7 separate regions of the Homo sapiens genome follow, and regions 1, 2, 3, 4, 6 and 7 are each linked to region 5. Evidence: promoter capture Hi-C in human tissues and cell types (Jung and others, 2019). All regions are on one chromosome and are shown on one strand. The core of a region is centred on a gene start or on the middle of the fragment in contact, and the rest is flanking DNA. Distances in the headings are between cores, read along the strand shown. Region 1 overlaps DLEU2 (deleted in lymphocytic leukemia 2). Region 2 overlaps DLEU2 (deleted in lymphocytic leukemia 2). Region 3 has its middle 26 kb from the start of MIR3613. Region 4 overlaps CAB39L (calcium binding protein 39 like). Region 5 holds the start of EBPL (EBP like). Region 6 overlaps CDADC1 (cytidine and dCMP deaminase domain containing 1). Region 7 has its middle 17 kb from the start of SPRYD7.

Region 1 (3,405 bases), core at 2-2,501, 410 kb after region 5:
CAAATTGGACAAAAACTATTAACTCACAGATCCAAGAAGCTCAACAAGAAGAAAACTACACCAAGGAATGTCATAATCAAATTATTCAAAGCCAATTATAAAAAATATGGAAAACAGCCACATGTTATAGAGTAACAAAGATAAGGTTGACAGCAGATTTCTCATTAGAAACATTGCAAGTGAAGAGACAGTAGAACATAAAGTACTGAAAGAAAAAAATGTTAACCTCAGCAAAATATCATTCAAAAAACAAAGGCAAAATAAAGATGTTTTCAGACATACGAAAACAACTCTTTACCATCAGGTAGACTGAAGGTAGACTGTGGTAGGGTGAAGATGTATACTGCCCTAGGGCAACCAGTAGAATAACAAAACAGTTATAGCTAATAAGTCAACAAAGGAGATAAGATAGAATCACAAAAAAATACTCAACCCAAAAGAAGGTGGAAAAAGGAACAAATAAGTAGTGAAACTAATAGAAAAATGGCAAGGCAATAGACTGTAATCATATCAGCAATCACATTAAATGCATATTATCTAAATATCCCACTTAAAAGGCAAAGATTGTCAGATAAAAAGCAAGACTGCTTTTGGACCTGGATGAACAGGAGGCACCATCACGGAAGTTGACTCCTGCCACAACAATGACTGAAAGGTTCAACACCAGGAACCCAAGAGCCAGGACATCTACTGAAGGCTGTTGGTTAAGCTGTATATGTTTCTGGCCAGAAGAAACTCTACCTTCAACCAAGTTGTGGTGAAGAGGTTATTTATGAGTTGCACCAAATGGCCATCTCTGTCTCTTTCCTGGATGATCTGGAAGATGAAGCTTCCTGGCCAGGAAAACAAAACAGCTGTGGTTGTGGGGACCATGTTCAGGAGGTGCCCAAACTGAAGGTGTGTGCACTGCACATGAGCAGTTGGGCCTGCAGCCAAATCCCCAAGGCTGGGGACAAGATTCTCACCTTTGACCAGCTGACCCTGGACACCCTCAAAGGCTGTGGCACCATCCTGCTCTCTGGGCCTCACAAGGGCCAAGAAGTGTACTGGCATTTCAGCAAGGCCCTGGGAACCCAGCATAGCCACACTAAGCCCTGTGTCCACTCCAGGGACCAGAAATTCAAGCACATCAGAGGCTGATGGGCCAGCCAAGGCTACAAAAACTAACCCTGGATCCTCTATCTTATTAAAAAGATTTTGGCCTGGGCGCAGTGGCTCATCCCTGTAATCCCAGCACTTTGGGAGGCCAAGGAGGGCAGATCACTTGAGCCTAGGAGTTCAAGACCAGCCTGGGCAACAAGTGAAACTCCATCTCTATAAAAAATTAAAAAAAAAAATTAGTTGGGTGTGGTGGTACATGCCTGTAGTCCCAGCTACTTGGGAGGCTGAGGCAAGAGGATCGCTTGAGCCCAGGAAGTCAAGGCTCCAGTGAGCCATGATCGTGCCACTGCACTCCACCCTGGGCGACAGAGTGAGACCCTGTCTTAGAACAAAACAAAACGAAACAAAAAATTTTGGATGGTGGGGGAAAGGAAAATAAAAAACAAGATCCAACTATATACTCTCAATAAAAAAACACATTTTAGGCTGGGTGTGATGGCTCCCAGCACTTTGGGAGGTCAAGGCAGGTAGATCACCGGAAGTCAGGAGTTCAAGACCAGCCTGGCCAACATGGCGAAATCTCGTCCCTACTAAAAATACAAAAATTAGCCAGGCATGGTGATGGGTGCCTGTAATCCCAGCTACTTGGGAGGCTGAGGCAGAAGAATTGGACGAATGCAGGAGGCAGAGGTTGCAGTGAGCAGAGATCATGCCACTGCACTCCAGCCTGGGAGACAAAACGAGATTCCGTCTCAAAAAAAAAAAAAAAAAAAAGAAAAAGAAACACATTTTACACACAAAGACATAATAACATTAAGAATAAAAGGATGACCAGGCACAGTGGCTCATGCCTGTAATCCCAGCACTTTGGGAGGTTGAGGCAAGAGGATCACTTGAGCCCATGAGTCTGAGACCAGCCTGGGCAATATGGTGAGATCCTGTCTCCACAAAAAATTAGCCAAGTGTGGTGGTGCACACCTGTAGTCCCAGCTACTTGGGAGGCTGAGGTGGGAGGATAGCTTGAACCCAGGAAGTCAAGGCTATAGGGAGTGGTGATCACGCCACTGTACTCCAGCCTGGAGTGACTCAAAGTACAGTCACTTTGAGACAGAGTGAGACTCTGTCTCAAAAAAAAAAAAAAAAAAAAAAAAAGGTAAAAGGATGGAAAAAGATATATCATACTGATGCTGGCATTAGTCAAAAGAAAACTGGTGTGGCTATATTAACATGAAATAAAGTAGATTTCAGAGCAAATAATATTACCAGGAATAAAGAAGGCCATTTTATAATAATAAAAGGGCTGGTTAATCAGAAGGATACAATAATCCTACATGGTTTTGTCTCAAATAATAAAAGCTTCAAAATATGTAAATCAAAAACTGACAGAAGTGCAAGGAAAAACAGACAAATCCATAGTTAGAGATTTCAATACCCCTCTTTAAATGATTGCTAAAACAAGTAGAAACTTACAAGGATATAGTAAACTCAAGCAACACTGTAACCAAATTAACAGTACAGGTTGAGCATCCCTAATCTGAAATACAAAATGCTCCAAAATCCAAAATTTTTTGAGCACCAACATGACCCAATACGTTGGGTCCTATTCCCAGGATCTCTTATTATATATATATATATAAATGTTCAGAAAATCCAAAAAACTTTGAAATCTGAAACACTTCTGGTCCCAAGCATTTTGGATAAGGGATACTCAACCTGTAATAGAATATATATTCTCTTCAAAGTATACATGAAACATTTACCCAAATCGATCATATTCTAGGCCAGAGGTTATCAAACTATGGCCCTGAGGCCAAATGTAGTCTGTTTTTGTATAGTCCATGAACTAAAAATGGTTTTTACATTTTGAAAGATTTCTTTAAGAAGAAAAGAAAATATGTGACAAAGATCATATGTGGCCCACAGAGTTTAAAATATTTACTGTCTGACCCTTTAGAGAAGTTTGCCTGCCCCTGTTCTAGGCCATAAAACATGTCTCAGTAAATTTTAAAGGATTCAGATAATGCAGAGTATGTCTTCTGACTACAGTAGAATTAAAATTAGAAATCAATAACAGAAAGCTGTCTGGAAAATCCCCAAATGTTTGGAAACAAAATAACATGCTACTAAATAACCTTCTAATAACCCATTGATTAAAATAGGAGTGCAGTAAAATTAGAAGGCATTTTGAGCTGAATGAAAATGAAAACAAAGCATATCAAATTTTGTGGCATGCCACTAAAGCAGTATGTAGGAAGACATAAGCAAAATGCTTATATTAGAAAATATAAAAAGTCTCAAGTTAAT
Region 2 (3,086 bases), core at 108-2,607, 390 kb after region 5:
AAAAAAAATCTGGAGTTTTAGTAAGCTAGACAACTCAGCTTATGGCCACTTCATATGATGATTTCTGTTTATGAGTAATTACTTATTGATTTTAGTTCACGTAAAAATTTCAACTTTACCAATTGTCTAGTCCGATTATATTGCAAAGACATAAAATTATATGGTTTTAAAATTTGTTAGTATACCTTAATCTCATGTCATGTTCCAATGCATTATGTAAGTATTCAATCAAAGAAGTGAGGCTGTTCTCCAGAATTGGTTCTCTGCTACAGGTCAAAACCTGCAATAAAAATGTCATGTATTATAGCATGAAGACACTCAACAGATTTCCATCTCCTGCAGTTCCACAGTTGATCCCTGAACACAGAGGTATGGTCTTCAAAATGACCCTAATCTTGCCAATGTTCAGAGAAGCTCTAACTTGAAAATGTTTTAAAAATAGAAATAACTTGATTAGAAACACCTGTGATATGCTTTATCATCCGAAGCCTCTTCAAACAAATCAGATTAATATGTTTCTGCTTTCATTTCTCTTTAGGGCATTCATGTTCAAAGTAGTATGGGTGAGTGTGTATGCGGGTAGCTGTTAGAGGACTGGTACAAGAGGAGTTCATAAAGAAAATATCAGAAATGTAGTTTGTACTTGTAAAACTCATAAAATCCACACAGTTTAAAAAGTTACTGAAGGGACAGGGACGAAATTTTACTTTCTCTCCAAATTATCAAATGTTTTAATGATGACAGAATTTACCATTCTTTTTTTTTTTTTTTTTTTTTGAGACGAAGTTTTGCTCTTGTTGACCAGGCTGGAGAGCAATGGTGCGATATAGGATCACTGCAACCTCTGCCTTCTGGATTCAAGGGATTCTCCTGCCTCAGCCTCCCGAGTAGCTGGGATTACAGGTGCCTGCCACCATGCCTGGCTAAGAATTTACCATTATTTTCAACTTTAGTCTACTGCCAAGCCTAAGTGAAAAGTATCAGTATTTCCAAATATTTTAATACATTACAGTCCTAACAGACCAAAATGTGGAGTTTTTTTTTTTTTAACAAGTTAACATATTTACAAATAATAAATGGACCACTACTGGACCAAATGGTTTTTTAATGTTTCTAAGAGATGTAACTGAATATATGTTAAGTGTTTTTTTTCATTTCTTTCACCTTTCTGAATTATAATGATTCAGTGGCAATCGACTGTATAAAAATATTAAATTACCAAAGGTGTATCATGTATTACATGTAAATCATAATGCTCTGAATAAATTTTCCAGTTATATTTAAGAATAGCTTAGGAAAATGAAAGAGTAAAACCTAAAAAAACCTTTATTCCTCTGTTGCCAAATATTTGATTGTTTAATGACAAAACCCACACAATCATCCATAACTCATAAACACCAATCCAAATACCATGACATTTTAAAAAATTACCGTCATTTATACACAGTCTTCCTCAAAAGACAGACAGTTTTCTATATTTGAGCACTCTGAAAATTAAGGTATCTTAAGTTTAAAAATCATAGAAGGAAAATAGTAGAAAACAAAATGTACTACATGCCAAATGTTAAGTTTTTAAATAGTAGGGAGATGAAAAATACTAACCAATAAGAAGCAAAAGAGGTCTGGATATAAATAAAATAATAAACCAATGTGTATGATAAAAAAGGCAATATTAAAAAACCTTCAAATAGTAAAACTCAAATCTAAAATCTATTACAAAATAGAGCTTACTATTTATTCTTAGAAACCACTACAAGTTATTCCAGTACAAATTTTCTTTACTGAAATAAGGCAGGATTAACCAAAGGTATAGTAAACTTCTTATAATTTGATAAGAAATATTAATAATATTCAAATATATATTTAATATCAATTTCAATATTTAAAACTTGTCTTTCTAAAAGGAAGATCCTTTAAAGCATCTCTAATACAGATCAAAAAATAAAAACAAAAAACCAACCGAGGCAAAAAAATAAAAAACATTCAGTTCCCCACCAGAAAGTAATATTTATATGATCTACGAGATAAATAAACATATAATAGTAATGTGATATTCTAAAAATCTATCCTGTTACTCTTAAGACAATCATGACATTAAAGTTCTAATACTGTCACTTCCAAAAATTAAATGCTTAATCTCATTTTCAATGCTTATTTGAAATAAAGTGGTATTTTATTACTGATTTCCTTTGGTGTTATGAGATTTGGGGCTACAAAATTTCAGCAAGTCATAGTTGAGCTCTAATTATGTGCCAAAATTAGTTGCCTGGCATACAATGTTTCAAAGTTTGCTGAATTAAAAACAAAACAAAACCAAAAACCCCCACGAAACTATATATATGACAATTTTTTCTAAGATGTGTTTTCTAGTTATAATCAGACCTAAAATCTGTGTCTTCTAAAAAGGGGTTAAAAAGAAATTAATATGTGAATTTTTAAGCTTCATTAGACAGAAGAAAAAAAACACAAGAGCCAATTTTAGGTAATATTTTAAAATAAGAGAAATTTTTATAGAATAATTTTTTGAAACTATAAATTTATCATCTTCTTTTGAAGAAAGCTAATGTGTCATATATAATAATTATCTAATACAGTCTCTGGGAATTTTTTTTCATTTTGTAAACCAAATCAACTGACCCATATTTCTGGCTTTAAGTATTCTGTGACATTCCAAATAGTTACTACCTACCAATAAACAAACAAACAAACAAAAATACACACAAGTCTCCACAAAACAAAACAAACGAAAATGTACTACATAAAGCATGATGAAACCAGGAATCTAGACTATGAAAGCTACTTTAAAATTTTTATCCTTAGCTGTAGTTCATGCTAAACATTAAAACTCATATTAATCTGATTAGAAAAAATATGCAGTGTTACATACAAACACCCGAGGCTACATTTTCTGAATGTACAACTAAGACAGGTCAACAGTATTTTTTTAAAAAGTCTGAAACTGCACTTTTATTTGAATTTTTAAAAATAGTGTGGGGGCAAACAAATGAAAATCAATGCTACCAGGAAGACTGATACCTTACCAGTCCCCTTTCCCCCACAATAGGTAAACATAACTTTAAAAAGGG
Region 3 (3,041 bases), core at 231-2,730, 280 kb after region 5:
ATAGACAAGGAGAAAATATTTGCAAATCACATATCCAATAAAGAGTTTGTATCTAGAATATATAAAGAACTCTTTAGCCATAACAATAATAAAACAAATAATTAAACTTAAAACTGTGCAAATGTCTGTCTTCCCCAAAGAAGATGTATGGATGGCAAATAAACATAGGGAAAGATATTCAACATCATTAGTCATGAAGGATATGCAAATTAAAACCACAATGGGATACCACTATGCACCTATTACAATGGCTAAAATAAAGAACTGAATACAAAATATTGGCCTTGATGTGGAGTAACAGAGTCATTCATTGCTGGTGGAAATACAAAATGGTACAGCCACTTTGGAAAAACAAATTTGGCAGTTTCTTATAAAGTTAAGCATATACTTATGTGACCCAGCAATCTCACTTCTAGGTATTTATCCAAGTGAAATGAAAGCTTACATTCATACAAAAACATGTATATGACTAGTTATACATAATTTTCCCAAAATGAGCAATCGAAAATGATAAATTGTGATAATCCATATAATGGAATACTACTCAGCAATAAAAAGGAACAGATTACTGATTCATACAAAAACATGGGTGAATCTTAAAATGCATTTTCCTAAGAAGATCATTATTGGGGCTGGGTGATGGGTACAGGAGGATTGATTATTCTATTTTTGTGTGTGATTGAAAATTTCCATAATAAAAGTTTTAAAAGTGTATTTTAATACGGTATTTTTTAATGATATCACAATGTCCAGGTACTGCACAGATGAGACTGAAGTTCCACGTTCTAAAGCCAGAAGCTGCATCTGAAATGTTGCATAGAAAACTGCTCATTGGCTGGGCGCGGTGGCTCACACCTGTAATCTCAGCACTTTGGGAGACTGAGGCGGGCGGACCACGAGGTCAGGAGATGGAGACCATCCTGGCTAACACAGTGAAACCCCGTCTCTACTTAAAATACAAAAAATTAGCCGGGCGTGGTGGTGGGTGCCTGTAGTCCCAGCTACTCGGGAGGTAGAGGCAGGAGAATGGTGTGAACCCGGGAGGCGGAACTTGCAGTGAGCCGAGATCACGCCACAGCACTCCAGCCTGGGCGACAGAGTGAGACTCCATCTCAAAAAAAAAAAAACAAACAAAAAACTTAGGTGGGCATGGTGGCAGGCACCTGTAATCCCAGCTACTTGGGAGGCTGAGGCACGAAAAATCGCTTGAAACCAGGAGGCAGAGGTTGCAGCGAGCTGAAATTGCACCATTGCACTCCAGCCTGGGCGACAGAGCGAGACTCCATCTCAATTAAAAACAACAACAACAACAACAAACTGCTCATTACATAAAGATCCAATCTGGTAATATAAATTTTATTTTATTAAGATATATACTTAGCACTTTGAATTGCTTCAAACATAATTTGAGGGGAACAAAGACTTATTGGCTTGTTGGTTTTAAGAACTGAATTTGCCTAGGCATTAGAAAAAGTACAGAAAGCTCCCCAGAGCAGTCTAGAGCCCAGCAGTCGCAGGCCCCTAGGCCATTTGAGTTATAGGACAGAAGGTGGGGGTGTCAGTGAACACTATTCCTTCTGAGTGTCTGTCAATGGAGGTTGCATGTGAAACAGGAAAGAGGTTTGCTGAGGCTCTATGTTTATGTTTGCCTTTTCTTCAACTGGAGACTGAAGTTTGAGAATAGCAAGTAAGCACGTAATCATTCTCCTAGATCTCATTACTTGAGATCTTTTTTTTTTTTTTTTTTGAGACAGGGTCTGGCTCTGTTGCCCAGGCTGGAGTGCAATGGGACAATCTCAGCTCACTGCAACCTCTGCCTCCCAGGCTCAAACCATCTTCCCATCTAAGCCTCCCAGGTAGCTGGGACCACAGCCGTGTGCCACCATGGTGGGGTAATTTTTGTATTTTTGGTAGAGACAGGGTTTCGCCATGTCACCCAGGCTGGTCTTGAATTCCTAGCTTCAAGCAATCCTCCTGCCTCAGCCTCCCAGAGTAAAGGCGTGAGCCACTGTGCTTGGCCTGAGATAATTTCTTAAGATGATGTATAATACCTCCCGCAATGATAGCTTCCCCGATGTAACACCTCCTGCAAGTTGTCCTGAGCTATTTTAAGCTGTAATCAGAATATATTGAAGATTCAACATTTTTATTGTCCTTGTCCTGTACCCCCAGCAATAAAAAAAAAAAAAAGACTTAAAAAAATTATGGGGCCTATCGGCTGGGTGTGGTGGCTCATGCCTGTAATTGCAGCACTTTGGGAGGCTGAGGTGGGCGGATCACCTGAGGTCGGGAGTTCAAGACCAGCCTGACCAACATGGAGAAACTCCATCTCTACTAAAAATACAAAATTAGCCAGGTGTGGTGAGCATGCCTGTAATCCCAGCTACTTGGGAGGCTGAGGCAGGAGAATCACTTGAACCCGGGAGGCGGAGGTTGCAGTGAGCCAAGATCAAGCCATTGCACTCCAGCCTGGGCGACAAGAGCAAAACTCCGTCTCAAAAAAAAAATTATGGGGCCGGGCGCGGTGGCTCAGTCCTATAATCCTAGCACTTTGGGAGGTAGAGGTGGGCAGGTTACTGGAGCCCAGGAGTTCAGGACCAGCCTGGGCAACATTGTGAAACCCTGTCTCTACAAAAAAGCTACTCTGGAGGCTGAGGCAGGAGGACTGCTTGAGCCCGAGGTTGAGGCTGCAGTGAGCCGAGATTGTGCCACCGCACTCCAGCCTGGGTGACAGAACAAGACTCCGTCTCAATTAAAAAAAAAAAAAAGGAAATTTCTGAAGTGATAGTAATGTTCTATGTCTCGATAGCAATTTGGGATACAAAGGTATAGGCATTTATTATTATTAAAACTTGGAAATTTACACACAAGCACATAAGATTTATACATTTCATTGTATACATATTTTACTTCAAAAGAAAAAAGTCAACAAATATTTAACCTAGTCAATGATATACATGCTGAGTTATTTAGGCGGAAGTCTACTGATGTCTACAATTTACTTTTAAATGCGCCCAAAAAAAAAAAAAACAGGGATTGAC
Region 4 (3,165 bases), core at 460-2,959, 330 kb before region 5:
AAATTAAAGCATAGTGCCAGAGAAAATCACATTCATTAAAAGGAAGATAGAAAGGAAGAGAAGAAGGAAGAGATGACTAAAAAACAACCAGAAAACAAATAACAAAATGGCAGGAGTAAGCCCCCACTTGTCAATAATAACATTGTATGTAAATGGACTAAAGTCTGCAATCAAAAGACATAAAGTGGCTACTTGGGAGGCTGAGGTGTAAGGATCACCTGAGCCCAGGAGGTCAATGGTTCAGTGAGCTGTGATTGTGCTACTACACTCCAGCCTGGATGACAGAGTGAGACCCTGTCTCAAAAAAAAAAAAAAGAAAAGAAAAAGAAAAAAGACACAGAATGGCTGAATGGATGAAAAAAAAACAAGACCCAAATGATCTGCTGCCTACAAGAAACACATCTCACCTATGAAGATACACATGGACTGAAAATAAAGACATGGAAAAAGATATTCCATGCTAATGAAAACAAACAAACAAAACCAAGCAGGAGTAGCTATACTTACATCAGACAAAACAGATTTCAAGACAAAAACTGTAAGAGGAGACAAAGAAAGTCATTATATAATAATAAAGGAGTCAGTTCAGCAAGAGGATTTAACAATTGTAAATATATATGCACCAAACACTAGAGCACCCAGATATGTAAAGCAAATATTATTAGAGCTAAAGTGAGAGACACATCCCAATACAACAATAGCAGATCTTAGACCTGGGACATGATAACTTTTACCACTGTTACTCAACATAATATTGGAAGTCTTAGCTAGAGCAATCAAACAAGAGAATGAAATGAAGGGCAAATATTATTAGAGCTAAAGTGAGAGACAGATCCCAATACAACAGTAGCAGATCTTAGATTTGGAGCATGACAACTTTTACCACTGTTATTCAACATAATATTGGAAGTCTTAGCCAGAGCAATCAAACAAGAGAATGAAATGAAGGGCATCCAAATTGGTAGGGAAGAAGTCAAATTATCCTTGTTTGCAGATGATAAAACCTTATATTTGGAAAAAACTAAAGACTCCACAAAAAAACTATTAGAATTGATGAACAAATTCAATAAAGTTGCAGGATACAAAAATCAACATACAAAAATCAGTAGCATTTCTATATGCTAACAGTGAACAATCTGAAGAAGAAATCAAAAAAGAAATCCCATTTATAATAGCAACAAATAAAATTAAATACCTAGAAATTAACTTAACCAAAGAAGTAAAAAAATCTCCATAATGAAAACTATAAAAAAATGGATGAAAGAAATTAAAAAGGACATGCAAAAAAGGAAAGATATTCCGTGTCCATGGATTGAAAGAAACAATATTGTTAAAATGTTCATACTACCCAACGTAATCTACAGGTTCAATGCAATCCCTATCAAAATACCAATGACATTCTTCATCGAAATAGAAAAAACCATCCTAAAATTTACATGGAACCACAAAAAACCCAGAATAGCCAAAACCATCATGAGCAAAAAGAACAAAACTGAAGAAATCACATGACTTGACTTTGAATTATACTACAGAGCTATATAGTAACCAAAACAGCATGATACTGGCATAAAAATAGACACACAGACCAATGGAACAGAACAAAGAATCCAGAAACAAATCTACACACCTACAGTGAACTCATTTTTTACAAAGGTGCTGAGAACATACATTGAGGGGAAAAGACAGTCTTCAACAAATAGTGCAGAGAAAACTGAATATCCACATGCAGAAGAATGAAATTAGACCCCTATCTCTTGTCACATACAGAAATCAAATCAAAATGGATTAAAGACTTATATCTAAGATCTATGAAACTATGAAGCTACTAAAAGAAAATATTGGGGAAACTCTCCAGGACATTGGTCTGGGCAGAAACTTCTTGAGCAAAACCCCACAAGCACAGGCAATCAAAGCAAAAATGGACAAATGGGACCACATCAAATTGAAAAGCTTCTGCACAGTGAAGGGTACAATCAACAAAGTGAAGAGAAAACCTACAGAACACAGGCCTTCTATGAAAAGGTGCTCAACATCACTGATTATCAGAGAAATGCAAATCAAAACTACAACGAGATATCCTCTCACGACAGTTAAAATGCCTTTCATGTAAACGTCAGGTAACAACTATTGCTGGTGAGGATGTGGGGAAAAGGAACCCCTCATATGCTGTTGGTAGGAATGTAAATTAGTACAACTACTATGGAGAATAATTTGGAGGTTCCTCAAAAAACTACAAATAGAGATACCATATGATTTAGCAATCCTACTCTTAGGTATATGCCCAAAAGAAAGGAAATCAGTATATCAAAGAGATATCTACACTCCCATATATGTTGCAGTATTGTTCACAATAGCCAAGATTTGGAAACAACCTAAATGTCCAAAAACAGATGAGAAAATGCGGATAAAGAAAATGTGGTACCCTATACACAATAAAGTACTATTCAGTCATAAAAAGGAATGAGATTCTGTCATTGCAACAACATGGATGGAACTGGAGGCCATTATGTTAAGTGAAATAAACCAGGCATAGAAAGACAAACATCAGATGTTCTCAGTTATTTGTGGGATCTAAAAATTAAAACAAGTGAACTCATGAAAATCAAGAATAGAAGCATGGTTACCAGAGGCTAGGAAGGGTAGCAGGGGAGTGTGTCAGGGTGAGATGGGGATGGTTAATGGGTACAAAAAACAATAGAAACAATGAATAAGATCTAGTAACACCAAGGATAAATGCTTGAGAGGATGGATACCCAATTTTCCATGATGTGGTTATTACACATTACATGCCTGTACTAAAATATCTCATATACACTACCTACTATGTACCCACAAAAATTAAAAAGAAAAAAAGAGAAAAAAGAAATAAATAAAAACCCATGCTCTCACGAGGTCAGGAGTTTGAGACCAGCATGGCCAAGATGGTGAAACCCCGTCTCTACTAAAAATACAAAAATTAGCTAGGCTTGGTGGCACGCACCTATAATCCCAGCTACTCAGGAGGCTGAGGCAGGGGAATCGCTTCAACCCAGGAGGCAGAGGCTGCAGTGAGCTGACATCGTGCCATTGCACTCCAGCCTGGGCAACAAGAGCGAAACTCTGTCTAAAAAAAAAAAAAAAAAAAAAAACCCATGCTCTCCAAACACCCTCCCTCCAAAACCCAAC
Region 5 (3,297 bases), core at 696-3,195:
GTTTCACCATGTTGGCCAGGCTGGTCTTGAACTCCTGACCTCGTGATCCACCCGCCTCAGCCTCCCAAAATGCTGGGATTACAGGCATGAGCCACTGTGTCCGATATGTTATACATTTTTATATATATACATTCTGATATGCTATATACAGTTATACCCAGCCAATATGTTACACAGTTTTCTCTCACTGGGCCTAGCAACATTTTTGTTATGTTATACATTTTGTTATACATTTTTTCTAACCGGGCCTAGCAATCTGCTTTATCTCCCTTGTTCTGTGGGAAACCTTGTGTTCAAGTGATAGCTTAAAAATCAATTCTCGGCTGGTGGCGGTGGCGGTGGCTCACGCCTGTCATCCCAGCACTTTGGGAGGCCAAGGTGGGCAGATCATCTGATGTTAGGGGTTTGAGACCAGTCTGGCCAACATAGTGAAACCTCATCTCTACTAAAAACACAAAAATTAGCTGGGCGTGGTGACGGGCGCCCGTAATCCCAGCTACTCGGGAGGCTGAGGCAGGAGAATAGCTTTAACCCAAGGGGCGGAGGTTGCAGTGAGCCGAGATAGTGCCACTACACTCCAGCCTGGGCAACAGTGTTAGACTCTGTCTCAAGAACAACAACAAAAAAAAAGACAAAAAAAAAAAAAAAGAATTCTATAAATAAAGGAGTTGAGAGAAACATTCACTGTCCCTTATCTCTACATGTTGATTATCAGAATAAAAAGAATTCCAGCAACATCAGTCATGGGCACAAAGCCAACCCGTAAACATTTACAGAACTCGATGATTACCCAAAACTCGGCTTGCTTTCTCAATACTACTGACTTTGGCTTCACATTAGCCACAGGTGTGTCTAGAGTTAAACAAGGTCAACTTTACAAAAAAAAAAAAAAACAAACTGATACTTGGGCATAGTTTAAAAAAAACTTAAAAGTGTGTGTGTGTGTGTGCGTGCGCGTGTGTGGTGGGGGGCGGGGCATTTCAATATAAATGCCTTAAACACAACCTTCCTGGCTATTTTATAAAATGGGTTGAATCTCTAAGGACACATATTTCCTAAGACCTCGACTGATACACAGAGTGCAAACTTGGGAGCCAGACTAGACTGCCTCAGAATCATGCCAGCTGTGTGGCACTGGAAAGTCACCTAATTTTGCAGCGCCTACCTTCACCTCTGTAAAATGGGGAACAATAATAACTAATTTATGGATGCTGTAAAGATCTGAAATTTTAAACTCAGTAATGCGCCTGGCACACATTAGACACGGGTGTTTCGTTTGTCTTGGCAAAGGCTTCGGGTTTTGCGACAATAGCCTTGCTGCCTCCGGAGCAAGCATCTCTCCTTGCCCCCTCTGGGGCATTTAAAAATGACCTCAATTCTACTCTCAATTATGTCCAGTTCAACAGTTACGTGCAGGTTACAAAGCCGAGGAAGCTGAGGTATCTTCTAAACTAACATAGCACGTACAGAATTTTTTTAAAGTTTGGTGGAGGAATCGGCAGCACAAGGTAAGCTGCGCTCTGTTCACAGACCTGGGAATCAGAACTCCGGCCGCCGCGGCCTCCAGGCGCCTCTCAGCTAACAGACTTCCTGCAGCAGGGGGAGGGGCGGCCAGCTCGCTGCAAAAAGCCGCAGGACCCCCTCACCCCGCCTTGCCGCCCCCGCTCCCACTCTCTGGGATGGGGAGTGCAGGGTCTAGGCGATGGCACTTACCAGCGCGAAGTGCACCAGCGCGTCGTAGCAGAGCCAGATGAGCGCCCCGCGGTCCGCCGCCCCCTGCCCGCGGCCCAGGCGCAGGCCCAGGGCGCAGCCCGCCGCCAGCAGCGCGGCGCACAGCAGCAGCGAACCGCCAGCCTCGGCCCCCAGCTCCCACTCAGCGCCCATGCTTCAGGCTTCCGACGCCAACGGCCCAGGACCATGCGGCAGAGGAAAGCAGGGAGAGAAACGACGGGGCGGGGCTGGCCGGGAAGGGGCGGAGCCGGATGGCCAAGGAGGAGCGGAGCTGATTGGCCAAGGCGGTCCGGGGAGGGACGGGGCTCCCCGGCCGGGTCGGGGCCAGAGCGAGGATTCCGTGCCCGCCTCGCACCCTGGCCAGCCTGCTGAGTCCGGTGGTTTTGCCAGGTGCCGCCCATGGAGGTTCCGTAGAAGGAACGTGCTCACCAACTTGCGCAACCGCCTCGACCAAACCTGTTCCCAAACCGAGCCCAAAGGATTGGTAATAGGGCCACACCTTTTGATGTTGTTTCGCTTTTAACAAGGCTCAAACTTTAAGCCACAAAGTGAAGCCTAGGTAGTGGAAATTTTGCCAGTAGACCGGGGCAGAATTTTAGGGGCAAAAGGTTTTAATTAGGCTGCAGCAAGCCTTACCAGGGAGGCTGGGGGCCAAGGGAGTTTTCAGCCACCAGCCGGCTTAAAGCCTTTATGGCCTACTCTGACAATCTTTCCATTTCTTAAAAATCCAGAAAAGTAGAAGGGTGGGTGAGAGGAGCGGTAAGTCCTATTGGCTTGGCGATAGATGCGTTTAACCTGTGGCAGGCCAGGTTTCACTATCGCAGGCCTCCATCACAACTGCTTCAGCACTGAGTGGTTAAATTAAATATTAAAAGCTGAGGCCGGGCGCGGTGGCTCACGCCTGTAATCCCAGCACTTTTTGCCAAGGCGGGCGGATCACGAGGTCAGGAAATCGAGACCATCCTGGCTAACACGGCGAAACCACGTCTCTACTAAAAATACAAAAAATTAGCCGGGCGTGGTGACGGGCGCCTGTAGTCCCAGCTACTCCGGAGGCTGAGGCAGGAGAATGGCGTGAACCCGGGAGGCGGAGCTTGCAGTGAGCCGAGATCGCGCCACTGCACTCCAGCCTGGGCAACAGAGCGAGACTCCGTCTCAAAAAACAAAAAAAAAATTAAAAGCTGAAAGAGTCAGTGCCCATATACCAAAGTCTGGAATGTAACAAAAGCCCACCAAGAGTTTTGCCTAGGCCTTTCTTGGGCCTTGAAGCATGACAAGATAACTAAGGAATTTTTAACAGGACCCGTTTAGGATTAAACAAGTTTTATTGGGGGTCTGAAGAAACTCCCCAGGCCTCCAAAAACAAGTTTATTGGGAGTCTGGAGGAATTCCACAAGCCTCCATGATTTAGCAAGAGACAAAATAAGGGTAATCATCCCAGCACCCAGACCTATTTAGATTAAGTAAATTTACTGAGGCTCCAGAGGAAGGTCTTCAGGATTAGAAGTTGTTAATCACTTACGTCTTTAGATGAATGCACTCTTACACGTAGACATATAGCTTAGA
Region 6 (3,245 bases), core at 43-2,542, 440 kb before region 5:
GGATATTCGCTTCTCATAATAAAATGATATCTCTTGGTGTAGTTTCCTCCCCCAATTCCTATGTGAAGTGTTTTATAGATAGTAAAACATTATTTAAAATATTATACATCGTTATTCCATATTTCTCACCCTCATCCCCCCACTCTGGCTCTACATGTTATTAACGGCTGAGAAAGCTCTTCATTTCCTTCATTAATTTTGAAATTCCTTTATTCCTTCTACTTGTTAATAGTTTAGTATTATTTTATGAAAGTAGATTTCCAAGCTGTTAGGGATTTTATGTAGTGTTGTGTTTTTTTTGTTTTGTTTTGTTTTGTTTTCAGATAAAATTTATTTTGAAGAGCCAGATTAGAAACAAATATTTAGAGGTTTAAGACTTTTAGGCCGGGTGCAGTGGCTCATGCCTGTAATCCCAGCACTTTGGGAGGCCGAGGCAGGCAGATCACAAGGTCAAGAGATCGAGACCATCTTGGCCAACATGGTGAAACCCCGTCTCTGCCAAAAATACAAAAAGTAGCTGGGCGTGGTGGTGCGTGCCTGTAGTCCCAGCTACTTAGGAGGCTGAGGCAGGAGAAACACTTGAACCCAGGAGGCAGAGATTGCATTGAGCTGAGATCACGCCACTGCACTCCAGCCTGGCGACAGAAAAAAAAAGAAAAAAAAAAGAAAAAAAAACGTATAAAAACTGGACATATTAGAGATTGAATACAAATTTTGAAAAGGCGTTCTTTTTTTTGTAAATATCCAGATGTGATCTCGTTTTAGTTCTGTTTTTTTATATACACACCACATCCTGTGCTGAAATTAAGTTTTTTTTTTCAACAGGCACAAGTTGTATTTAATTAGTGAGAAATGACATTTATGTTTCTATTAGGAAGGAATTGATTGGCCAACTAATTGTTGAAGTTTATTTGCAAATAATACACACCCTACTGTTTCCTCATACTATATAGAGAAAGCTGTGGATCTGAGAAAACTGAGATGAAGCTTTCAGTTAGCATTTTGTTAAAAAAAATACTACCAAGGAAATTTCAAAACTATATTAGCAACAAAATTTTATACAACTTTATATCATGTTTAACAAAAGATCAAGGTTATGACTCTCATTTTCTCCCAAGCCAACAACTCTTAAGTTTTCCTGGCATCTCATTCCTTCATCTGGTGGGCACCATGGAAGTTTTCTAAATGAAAATAAATAAGTCTTTTGTTTCAGATATTTTATTTGGGATCTTATTTAGAAATCTGACTCATACGCATGTCTATTTAAGGCTTTTAAATGGAAAGTTATAACACATAGAAATGAGTACAGAAGGCATCAAAACAAAGAACATCCATGTCTTCAGAAAGCCAGGCAACCTGGAACTAGGATTGACTTGGCTATATGAAAGGTTATCACTCTTAGCTCCTGGTCCTGGAGCATGCCCAGCTCCTATTCACTGCATTGGTGTCTTTCCAGCTGTGCTCCCATACCCATGTGTCCTAGGACTACAACCCTCTCACCATGGTCTTGGGTAGGCCTTTACTTCTGTTCTTACCTACAGGGCTTGGGACTCCAAGGCACTTGGGGAGGGAGAGCCTCAGGATTACTCTGGCAGTGATCTGGGTGAAAGAGGCTTTTGCATGTTAACTTGGGAACTTGACTATCATTTTTAACATTGTTTATATGAGAAAAATGTGTTTTAAATTCCGAAAAGGGAGATTTACCAAGTATTTAGAACATGATTGTAGGTTGTCAATTACTTGTATATTTAATGTCAATAAAGCAGAAGTATATAATTTCATTAGTTCTTCTGATATCATGGCCATTGCAAAAAAGCAAGACCAATGATAGTGTGGGGGAAGAATACAGAATGAAAGGGAGCATATTGTACTCCACTTTTATAGTGTTATTTATTGTACAAACATTATCATTGAAACTGAATTTATAGCTGCAACATTTTTAAAAACTATTTTTTTCTCTTGGATTTCCTTTTTGTACTAGTTAATATCCACATAATTTTGCAGGTAGTTGCAGTCATAGCAGGAACACAATTTTGTATTTGACAGTTTTGGTACTGTTACAGGGTTGATAAGTTATTAATTTTAAATTATACAGTAAGAATACATCTAAATTTCATATGCATGTAGTATATGCTGCCATTGTGTTTATACTTGTGGAAATATTAAATTTCTCAAAATGTTGCCCAATTTTGTGCCTAATATTTCTTTACCATTTACTATAGTATATTTTTTCCAGTATTATTTGCACATGGTATTCTTAGAGTTGAGTACAAACTTTTTCCAATTAAGAGAAAAAAAGTCTTCTTTAAGCTAAAGTAATAAGATTGTTTCACTTAAATTCTTTAGTCTGCTTTTGTTGTACAGAGTAAATCACAGAAATACCAAGATGCAATTAGACATGTAATTGTATTGGAAATACTGCTTTTGATACTTTACCAACATTTGTCTTACTAAAAGTATTTTTATGAGTTACCAAAGTAATATATGTTTGTTATTTTTAAAATGGACAGAAGAAAAATTTTATCATAATTCCACCTCCTAGAGACTAATTACTTTTTAAAAATTGTTTCTCAGTCTTTTTTCTCTTACTTTCTTTACTTACATGAGATCATTTAACTCTGGATCCTACCCTTTTCACTTAACATAAGAAAATACTTATGCTGTAATGCTAGTATAAACATTGGAGCAGCACCTTAGTCTAGTAATTTAGAGTAGCCAGTGGTTTTACAGCCAGCCTGCCTGGGTTCAGACTCTGGCTCCGCCTCTTACTAGTTGTATAACTTTGGGTAACTCTACCTCTCTGTGTCAGCTTCCTCATCTGTAAAATGAAATGTTACTAGTATATACTACATGAGGCTTTTATGAGAAATGAATGAGTTAATATTTGTAAAGGTCTTAGTGCCTGGCACATGTTAGGTACTATGTGTTTGTTGTTGTTGTTGTTGTCTCCTTATTTATTTATTTGTTTATGTATTTATTTTAATAGAGATGTGGTCTTGCCATGTTGCCCAGACTGGTCGCTAACTCCTGGGCTCAAGCAGTCCACCCGCCTCAGCCTCCCGAAGTGGTAGGATTACAGGCATGAGCCACCGCACCTAGCCTCCTAACTCTTTCCATTGTGTCTTCTGGTACCTTATGCTAAAGGCCCTCACTGTACTTTTCCAGAACAGAAGCAATGTGGCATAATGGTTAAGACAATGGATCTTGGGCTGGATCTGGCATATCCACTTAATTACCTGTGTGAC
Region 7 (3,401 bases), core at 13-2,512, 260 kb after region 5:
ATGGCTCATTCCTGTAATCCCAACACTTTGGGAGGCCAAGGTGGGTGGATCACTTGGGGTTAGGAGTTCCAGACCAGACCGGGCAACATTGTGAAACCCCGTCTCTACTAAAAATACAAAAATCAGCTGGGCATGGTGGTGCATGCCTATAGTCCCAGCTACTTGGGAGGCTGATTCAGGAGAATCGCTTGAACCTGGGAGGTGGAGGCTGCAGTGAGCTGAGATTGCGCCACTGCACTCCAGCCTGGTCGACAGAGTGAGACTCCATCTCAAAAAGAAAGTAAAGGAATAAAGAATGGCTACCCCTTAGACTGCAGCCCTGAGGGCTGCTGGCTGCCCATTTTTATAGTTATTTCTTGATTATATGTTAAACAAGGGGTGGATTATTCATGCCTCCCCTTTTTAGACCATATAGGATAACTTCCGGATGTTGCCATGGCATTTGTAAACTGTCATGGCACTGGTGGGAGTGTAGCAGTGAGGACGACCAAAGGTCACTCTTGTTGCCACCTTGGTGTTGGTAGGTTTTAGCTGGCTTCTTTACTGCAACCTGTTTTATCAGCAAGGCCTTTATGACCTGTATCTTGTGCCGACCTTCTATCTCATCCTGTGACTTAGAATGCCTGTCTGGAAATGTAGTCCAGTAGGTTTCAGCCTCATTTACCCAGCCCCTATTCAAGACGGAGTTGCTCTGGTTCAAATGCCTTTGACACAGCCTCTCAGACCCACCTTAGACTTCTAAACTCTAGAACTATAATATGAGAAAACTGTGTTGTTTTTTGTTTTGTTTTTACATTTACGGGTTTATTATAAAGGATATTACAAAAAATACACATGAAGAGATAGGTAGGGCAAGGTATGCGGGAAGGGGTGCGGAGCTTCTATGGATGCACCTCCCTGGATGCACCACCCTCCAGAAACCTCCAGCTATCCAGAAACTCACTGAACCTTGTCCTCTTGGGTTGTAATGGAAGCTTCATGACATCAGCATTCCTTCCCCCAGGGTATAGGGTGGTACTCTCTCATGAGAAGGTCTTAAGATCTATAATCAGACAGGTTGGGGAACATTAGAGTGGAAGGAGGGTGGGAGGTCAGAGGCCTGCCCCTGAGTCTTAACCCACCATATATGTGTGTGTGTGTGTGTATATATATACACACACACACACACACACATATATAAATATATATATATATATATATATTTTGAGATGGAGTCCCACTCTGTTGCCCAAGCTGGAGTGCAGTGGCACAATCTTGGCTCACTGCAACCTCCACCCCCAGGGTTCAAGCAATTCTCCTGCCTCAGCCTCCCAAGTAACTGGGATTATAAGTGCGTGCCACCATGCCCAGCTAACTTTGTATTTTTAGTACAGATGGGGTTTATCCATGTTGGCCAGGCTGGTCTCGAACTCTTGACCTCAAGTGATCCACCTGCCTCGGCCTCCCAAAGTGCTGGGATTACAGGTGTGATCCACCGTGCCCAGCCCTAACCCACCCAATATTCTAACAAAAAACTGTAACAAGCACTATGGGAGTTGGAGCCAGGAACTGTGGACAAAAACCAATATATAGCGTAACACCACACGCCATCCTCTGGTTTTCAACCATGGATCCTTTACATAAAATATATGTTTTATTAATGATTATGTATACATACATACACAATCATTAATAATCAATCCAGCCCATTATACTGTTCGAATGATTCCCAGGATGAGGCCACTCGGGTTTACAGGTTTCCTCTCAATCTTGTCAGGTTCCAAAAGCAGAAGTGGCCTCGGTAAATACACAGCTTCACCTTTTCAGGCATCTGGAATAATTGAGCTACGAGAAAATGTCATCTCTTGCCCTGAGACTCTTTTGACTTGTTAATGTGATATTGAATTTTCCTCAATTAATAACTCATTTATTTATTTGAGAGAGGTTCTGGCTCTGTCACATAGGCTGGAGTGCAGTGGCATGATCTCTGCTTACTGCAGCTTCAACCTCCCAGGCTCAAGTGATCCTCCCACCTCAGCCTCCTGAGTAGCTGGGACCACAGGTATGCACTACCATGCCTGGCTACTTTTTGTTTTTGTTTTTTTTTCCTGTAGAGATAAGGTCTCCCAGTGTTGCCCAGGCTGGTCTTAAACTCCTGGGCTCAAGCAGTCCTCCTGCCTTGATGTCCCAAGGTTTCGGGATTAGAGGCATGAGCCAATGTGCCCAGCTTTATTTATTTATTTACTCTCAGCTATTATTTTTCCTTCTGTCCATTAATACCCAAACCTTTTCACCTTTGGAAGGGACATTAGAATCACCACTATGCTGGTCTAGATTGCAGGTAGCAATACAAGTCTAGCAAGTATCTCCTCCTCAATACAGGTCTAGCAAGTATCTCACTCCCATTCACATAGGGTAAGGTTACACAGGTACAGAACTAGTGAGCTCTTTTCAACACCAGGCAATATAGCTGCATTCACTCTTAGCCCCAATTTTGCTAGATGGGGTGAAGGCACAATCCACCCCCATCTGCCCTTAGAAATTTTGACATAGCTTTAAAAACATAGGCTTTTTTGCCTAGAACTCACCCTTGCTGTTCTAGCACTTGTAGTTGCAGCTGTGGTCTTGGGACCACCGCATCAGGTAGGGGAGAGAAAAAAAAATTTTTTTTTTTCTTTTTGAGACAGTGTCTCACTCTGTCGCCCAGGCTGGAGTGCAGTGGCATCATCTCGGCTCACTGCAAGCTCTGCCTCCTCGGTTCACGCCATTCTCCTGCCTCAGCCTCCCGAGTGGCTGGGACTACAGGCGCCCGCTACCACGCCCGGCTAATTTTTTGTATTTTTAGTAGAGACGGGGTTTCACCAGGTTAGCTGGGATGGTCTCGATCTCCTGACCTCATGATCTGCCTGCCTCGGCTTCCTGAAGTGCGGGGATTACAGGCTGAGCCACTGTGCCCGGCCGAGAAAAAATTTTTTGAGGTGATTTTGAGAAGAAAGAAAAATGTATTGTCATTTTACCAGTGTACTCCTTTCTTGGTGAGACCTGCGTAGTCATCTCAGCATTCTCCCCACTCCCTTTTCCCAGATCAACCAGAAAAACAGAGAAAAAATCTAACAGGAGCACTCTAGTTTCAACCACGTTGAGTATAAGCCAGGCTTTCATGCTTTTATCTTCCCTGGTTTTAGACAACCAATATTTTAATTGCCCATTCTACTTATCTATCAAACTATTACTCTAAGGAGGATATCTCTCTGCCCATTGTTGGGCATTATGGGCTGTACAGTGTGTTCCTTTGTCTGAAGAAGAAATGATGGTCAGCCATCCAAATCCTTGAAATATCTTCTGTTGTTTATTTTTTTTAATTTTTTTTTTATGGCACTCTGAACACTTTCATCTTCCATTGGATAAGCAAAGCCTGCACT

The links. Contacts are between HindIII fragments. The study calls those that stand out against the background at their distance.
Region 1: a fragment that was not itself captured here is called in contact with the fragment with the promoter of EBPL in region 5 in 1 of the 25 tissues and cell types used here (hippocampus).
Region 2: a fragment that was not itself captured here is called in contact with the fragment with the promoter of EBPL in region 5 in 1 of the 25 tissues and cell types used here (aorta).
Region 3: a fragment that was not itself captured here is called in contact with the fragment with the promoter of EBPL in region 5 in 1 of the 25 tissues and cell types used here (hippocampus).
Region 4: a fragment that was not itself captured here is called in contact with the fragment with the promoter of EBPL in region 5 in 1 of the 25 tissues and cell types used here (lymphoblastoid cells).
Region 6: a fragment that was not itself captured here is called in contact with the fragment with the promoter of EBPL in region 5 in 1 of the 25 tissues and cell types used here (dorsolateral prefrontal cortex).
Region 7: a fragment that was not itself captured here is called in contact with the fragment with the promoter of EBPL in region 5 in 2 of the 25 tissues and cell types used here (IMR-90 fibroblasts and aorta).

What each region holds. Positions count from the first base shown.
Region 1 is chr13:50,098,709-50,102,113 of GRCh38, forward strand. The region is part of intron 1 of DLEU2 (deleted in lymphocytic leukemia 2); the gene reads right to left. All of the region lies in intron 2 of DLEU1 (deleted in lymphocytic leukemia 1), which reads left to right. It also overlaps the pseudogene RPL18P10. Among named protein-coding and RNA genes, the nearest start is that of DLEU1, 18 kb to the left of the region's middle. The HindIII fragment of the contact is 3,724 bases long and covers 1-3,113 here.
Region 2 is chr13:50,075,374-50,078,459 of GRCh38, forward strand. It overlaps DLEU2 (deleted in lymphocytic leukemia 2), which reads right to left. Exons shown (of 14, transcript NR_152566.1): 2 at 186-280. Among named protein-coding and RNA genes, the nearest start is that of DLEU1, 5.3 kb to the right of the region's middle. The HindIII fragment of the contact is 4,740 bases long and covers 1-3,086 here.
Region 3 is chr13:49,969,190-49,972,230 of GRCh38, forward strand. No RefSeq gene overlaps it. Among named protein-coding and RNA genes, the nearest start is that of MIR3613, 26 kb to the right of the region's middle. The HindIII fragment of the contact is 5,900 bases long and covers 1-3,041 here.
Region 4 is chr13:49,363,522-49,366,686 of GRCh38, forward strand. The region is part of intron 5 of CAB39L (calcium binding protein 39 like); the gene reads right to left. Among named protein-coding and RNA genes, the nearest start is that of CAB39L, 79 kb to the right of the region's middle. The HindIII fragment of the contact is 5,875 bases long and covers 1-3,165 here.
Region 5 is chr13:49,689,541-49,692,837 of GRCh38, forward strand. EBPL (EBP like) reads right to left here and starts at 1,946. Exons shown (of 4, transcript NM_032565.5): 1 at 1,714-1,946. The coding sequence starts at 1,884. RefSeq lists an enhancer at 1,241-2,238 and silencers at 1,702-1,841, 1,872-2,071. The HindIII fragment of the contact is 15,697 bases long and covers 1-3,297 here.
Region 6 is chr13:49,250,746-49,253,990 of GRCh38, forward strand. The region is part of intron 2 of CDADC1 (cytidine and dCMP deaminase domain containing 1); the gene reads left to right. Among named protein-coding and RNA genes, the nearest start is that of CDADC1, 4.4 kb to the left of the region's middle. The HindIII fragment of the contact is 5,612 bases long and covers 1-3,245 here.
Region 7 is chr13:49,951,413-49,954,813 of GRCh38, forward strand. No RefSeq gene overlaps it. Among named protein-coding and RNA genes, the nearest start is that of SPRYD7, 17 kb to the left of the region's middle. The HindIII fragment of the contact is 5,612 bases long and covers 1-3,401 here.